Linked DNA regions of Homo sapiens: region 2 is linked to region 1. Evidence: promoter capture Hi-C in human tissues and cell types (Jung and others, 2019). All regions are on one chromosome and are shown on one strand. The core of a region is centred on a gene start or on the middle of the fragment in contact, and the rest is flanking DNA. Distances in the headings are between cores, read along the strand shown.

Region 1 (2,700 bases), core at 35-2,534:
CCTTGACAATGGGCAAACTCCCACACTCATCTGCAGAGCAAGGGCCAGCCAGGTAGGAAGGGCCAGGTGGATGTCTCCTTTCCAGGGTTGTATGAATGATTCACCTGGGAAGAAGGTGAGTGGCCTCTGGGGATGTGGTTAAGGAGGACAGGAATGACTCCTTGCAACTGCTGCTCCAGAGCCTCATCACCAGGACAAATCCAGCTCGCCGGTTTTCTGTGTGACTACCAGGACCCATCTGCTGTCACGGGCGTAGCCTCCACCTCTTGCACAGCTCCGCAGTCCTGCCTCGGGCCAAGTGTGGTCTCCTGCTCTCTGCCCTCATCTGCTCAGAGATTGGCATCCTCTGCACCCGCTAGGGTTCTATGGAATTGGGTGAGCTGAAGTAACAAGTGCTTTGGGAGGCCGACGCGGGCGGATCGCTTGAGTCCAGGAGTTCGAGACCAGCCTGGGCAGCACATGAGACCTCATCTCTACAAAAATACAACAACAACAAAAAATTAGCCGGGTGTGGTGGTGCACGCCCGTAGTCCCAGCTACTTGGGTGGCCGAGGTGGGAGGATGGTTTGAGCTCGGGAGGCAGAGGTTGCAGTGAGCTGAGATCAACCCCAGAACTCCAGCCTGGGCAACAGAGCTAGACCCTGTCTCAAAAAAACACAAAACAAGTGCTGGCGATGCCTCAGGCAGGGGATCCCAGGCCGGGAGGCTCCTCGGGACAGCAGTTACTGCGTCAGGAGGGCAGGAGCTCCCCAGGTGTGCAAAGGGTTTGAGGGCACGGAGGGCTGAACAGGCAGAAGGGACAGGGAGGCAAGAAAACACCTGCAGGAGGCAGCTGCCCCCTAAGCTAAGGCTGGGGACCCAGGAGGGGTGGTCCGTGCAGGAGCTGGGGAGGCCGCTGGGGAAAGGGGCGCCCCCTGGGCTCGGCCTCGGAGGAGCGGGCCGGCCCCCAGGTCCCTCGGCCGAGCCCACGTCCCGGGCCTCGTTCTGGAGAACCCTCCAGCTGCTGCTTGGGCGTCTTGGGCTGCGCTCAGCCTAGTCCCTTCTCTACCTGGAGGGATGCGCCCGACAGCCGGCGCGCCGGAGGCCCTCAGGAAACGCAGGACGAGGCGGTGGCCGTCGAGCCTCCGGTGCCAGTCGGGGCGGGGCTTGGACGGCGGGGCGGGGACTGTAGGCGCGCAGGGCTGGGCCTGGAGGGCAGGCGGGGCGGGGCCCGTTAGGCGCGCGGGGCGGGGCTTCGGCCGCTGGGCGGAGCCGTCAATGCGCAGGCGCGGCGTCGCCCCGCCCACTCCGGCTCGGCGGCTCTGGGCCTGCGGCGGGCGCTGCGGGTTGGAGCTCGGGACGTGATCGTGGGTGCGTGCGCGCGGCCGCGCGGAGCGCTGGGCTGAGGGTCCCGGTCTGCGGTTCAGCCGCGGGTCGGGGTGGCGGGGCGCGATCTCGGGCGCCGTCAGCCAGTCGGTGCCTGTGGGGGGAGGGGGACGGCGCTGCAGCTCGTCACGTGACCGCGTGGAACACGCGCGCGCGTCCGCGGGATCCCCTCGGGGGGCGAGCTCGGAGGAACGGGGTCCTGGGCAAGGTCCCGGCGAGGCCGCCCCGAGCCTGCGCGTCGCTAAGTCCAGGCCTGCTGCGTGGGGCTTCGCGCGCTCGCGGGGTTGCGGCCCGGGCAGGGGGAGGGCCCGGGTGCTCGGAGCCTTCCCTTCGCTGCCCTCCTGCCCCCTCCCTGCTTCTGCAAGCGTGTTTCAATTTGTACAACGTGCATAAAACATGAAATTACCCTTGGCCACTTCCAGGCGCGCAGCCAGCGGCTCCCTGCCCTTCCCCTCCGGGCCCTGAGTACCGGCCCCCCACCAAGGAGGAGCCCGAGGTCTCCGTCCCGGCGGCGATGCTGCCCCGTCGGCCTCTGGCGTGGCCCGCGTGGCTGTTGCGGGGTGCTCCGGGAGCCGCGGGTTCTTGGGGTCGGCCGGTTGGCCCCCTGGCCCGCAGAGGCTGCTGCTCCGCCCCGGGGACCCCCGAGGTGCCGCTGACCCGGGAGCGCTACCCCGTGCGGCGCTTGCCGTTCTCCACGGTGTCTAAGCAGGACCTGGCCGCCTTTGAGCGCATCGTGCCCGGCGGGGTCGTCACGGACCCGGAAGCGCTGCAGGCTCCCAACGTGGACTGGTTGCGGACGCTGCGAGGTGGGTGAGGCTTGGGAAGCTGCGGCGTTTCCGCGTCCCTGCTCCGCTGCGCCTTCCCGTGGAGGCTTCAAAGCGGGCTGAGAACAACCTGGATGGGGGTGCCAGCCCCTGGCTGCGCTGAGAGGGGCGTGTGCACCGCCACAGGCTGCTGGAATGAATGACCACGAACGAGTCGCTTAGAACAACCCAAGTTTTGTTGTTGTTGTTGTTTTGTTTTTTCTTTTTTTTAAGACGGAGTCTCACTCTGTCGCCAGGCTGGAGTGCAGTCACGGAGTTTCACTCTGTCGCCAGGCCGGAGTGCAGTGGCGCGACGTCGGCTCACTGCCACCTCTGCCTCCCGGGTTCAAGCGATTTGCCTGCCTCAGCCTCCCTAGTAGCTGCGACTACAGGCGCCCGCCACCACGTTCCGCTAATTTTTGTATTTTTAGTAGAGACAGGGTTTCACCATGTTGGCCAGGATGGTCTCGATCTCTTGACCTCGTGATCCGTCCGCCTCGGCTTCCCAAATTGCTGGGATTACAGGCGTGAG
Region 2 (2,763 bases), core at 35-2,534, 460 kb before region 1:
GGCTCCAGGGCTTTCATTCCCTCATTCCTGCGTGCCTATTCCTTATGTCCCTCACTTTTATAAACTATCCCCACCCGATTCCTTGGCAATCAACTTAATCTCCCCCCCAAAATGTAAAATCCCCTTCCTTTAAAGCGTGTATTACTTATGGCTCCATCTCTACATAGATGTATACACGCAAAAGAACCGGTGTGTGGCCTCTGAGCCCACGGTGGATACGCAGGACTGGGCGGAACGGAATCCCTACTCTCGGGGTCTCCACCCTCCGGGAAGGACTTGTCACTTCTGCATCCATTGTGTTTACTAAGTGATAACTGCCACTGTTTCTTTTAAGGGTATAAAGGGAGTCGAGCAATCTGTAGAGATGTCAGTCTGAACCTCTGGCAAAGTCGCAGGTCAACAGAATCCTGCATAGGGCACAGGATCAACTACAGGTATCTGGGGACAAGACCGTCCCACACAGGGGAAGAGGTAGGGGCACACCCAGCCTTACCCAGGGAATGGGGTCAGGTCCGCACAGCCTGCAGCCAGGCCACGGGTGCTGTTGAGGATGGTGGGAGCTGGGTGGGGGCTGCAAGCAGCAGAAGGCAGGATCAGACGTGTTTTTTTTTTTTTCGTGGAACACTGACACTAAGTGGCAGGGGAGGGGAGGGCAGGGGAGGCCTACTATAGTTCAGTCTAAAGATGACAATGGCTTGCATTATGGTGGGCATAATGGAGGAAATAAATGGCCAGATTTGGTATATATTCAGAAAGAAGCACCAAGAAGTTCCTTATTGACCAGAAGAGGGGTGTAAAAGAAGTTAAGAAAGACACAGGTTCTTGGCCTGAGTGACTGGGAAGAGCTGCCCTCACTGAGGTGGGTAAAATTCAAGGAAGACTGGATGGATAAGGGGGTGTGATGCCCTGACTGGGCAGGTGGGGAAGTGGAGCAGGCAACTGTATGTGCAAGGTCAGGGGAAAAGCCTAGGAGCCAGCAGAAATACCATGCACTTCATGACACCACCTAGGGAGGGGAGCAGAATCACAGAAGGCAGAGAACACCTGCGGCTTGACGCAGAGAAGGAGCCAAGGATATCATCAGCAAAGCCGTGCTCTAAGTCAGCAGCACGGAACTGGGCAGGTGGGCCTCCCTAGATGTGGAAATAGGCATTCCCTTCTGTGTCACTGCTGTGGTTTGTTGGTAACCTTTCCGTGGGGATTAACCAATCAGCAACTAGTGCAAGTGTGTTTTTTGTTGCTGTTTTGTTTTTGAGGGCTCAGCACTGCAGAGGGAGATGGAGAAAGAGTAACGGGTAGGGATTCGGTCCGCTGTCAAGGAACTTCCAATAAAGCTAGGAAGTCAGCACAGGCACAGTACCTAGTACACAGGACACCGTAAAGAGTTAGTTTAAAAAACACTGTTAGCAGAAGAGATTACAAAATCATATGCTAACTTTGTGCTAATAACCGTCCAGAATGCTTCTGTGCTGATGCTCACAACCAGCATTTCCTCCCAGCAGGCTTAGCACACTGAAACTAATAAATAGTTCGTAGAAGCAAATTTTAGAAATTCCATGGCTAGCAATATTCAGACCAAATGAAGTGTGAACGTCTGTCTGTGACATTTGAGTTTTCAGCCCTCAAAGGGACGGGGGAGAAGTTTGGGTCTGCTCAAGGTAGGAGGTGAGAAGAGATACCCTCCTATTCCATAAAGTCATGATCCCCAAAAGGGCTACACTTACCAGAAGATAGGTAGATCAAAAAAAGAAGAAGAAAAGCCCACTAGTGTAGAGGGGACTACAGGATGCCTTCTCTGACTATCCTGAGCTGGCAGACAGAAGCATCTCTTGAGCTGTAGGGACAATGGACTAGTACTCTACAACCAAGCCCATTTGTCCAGGAACCCCTAGCCCAAACTGAGATATTAACAAAACAGAAAGCAATTCCCCCCCACCCCGCCTCAGGAAAGAATAAACCTCATACCAGGCTAAAAAGGATACCCACAGATCAGCACAAATGGTAGAGAGGCTAAAAGCCCAAAGCTCAAAAAGAAGGAAGGATGGATTAGAAGTAGGATTAGACTCAAGAACTTCGGGAGACAGAACTAAGATTGAGACAATAAAAAAGCATAAGAGACATAAAGGTGACATTTTAGAAAAAAAATCGAGAGATGGAACGAATGAAAGAGCTAAGAACCATGGAATGAGAAACTCTAACATATGTCTATAACTGGAGTTCCAAAACAAAAAGAGAAAAGAAAAAATCCAAAGAACAGAGAAGAAACATTTTTTAAAATAGCTGAGAAAATTCTAAGATTTAATGATACAACATTCTTCCCTCATCCCAAAAAAGACAGAGAAGGTGTCTAGCAGGATAATTTAAACTAATCCAAATCAAAACACACTACAGAGTAACCTCAGAGCACCAAAGACAAGAGCAGGACCTTAAAAGCAACTAGAGAGAAAAGACAGGTTACTCATAAAGAATACTATGAGACCAAAGGCAGACCACTTAAAACAATACATACCAGAGGATAATGGCTATATATAAATTATGGCGAAAGAAATAACTGTCAATTTGGATTTAAGAATTCTTTTTCATTTAAGAATGAGAATAGACATATTCAAAGATAAAGCAACTACTACCAATAGATCCCTGCTGACAGACCTACTAAAGGACATATTTCAGCAAGAAAATGAAAGCCAGAGAGACCAGAAAGAAGGAATACTGATAAACCAGCAACCTAGATAAAGTGAAACAAGTGGTGACCCTATACTAATA

What was found. The method cuts DNA at HindIII sites, captures the fragments that hold promoters and counts their contacts. A contact is called where the count stands out against the background at its distance.
Region 2: a contact is called between a fragment that was not itself captured here and the fragment with the promoter of D2HGDH in region 1, in 1 of the 25 tissues and cell types used here (lymphoblastoid cells).

The regions. Positions count from the first base shown.
Region 1 is chr2:241,733,346-241,736,045 of GRCh38, forward strand. It overlaps D2HGDH (D-2-hydroxyglutarate dehydrogenase), which reads left to right and starts at 1,285. Exons shown (of 10, transcript NM_152783.5): 1 at 1,285-1,350; 2 at 1,788-2,171. The coding sequence starts at 1,880. RefSeq lists silencers at 812-861, 902-1,951, 1,962-2,071 and an enhancer at 2,112-2,351. The HindIII fragment of the contact is 17,644 bases long and covers 1-2,700 here.
Region 2 is chr2:241,273,251-241,276,013 of GRCh38, forward strand. The region is part of intron 1 of HDLBP (high density lipoprotein binding protein); the gene reads right to left. It overlaps HDLBP-AS1 (HDLBP antisense RNA 1), which reads left to right. Exons shown (of 2, transcript NR_168372.1): 1 at 1-434; 2 at 753-2,763. Among named protein-coding and RNA genes, the nearest start is that of HDLBP-AS1, 2.5 kb to the left of the region's middle. The HindIII fragment of the contact is 8,748 bases long and covers 1-2,763 here.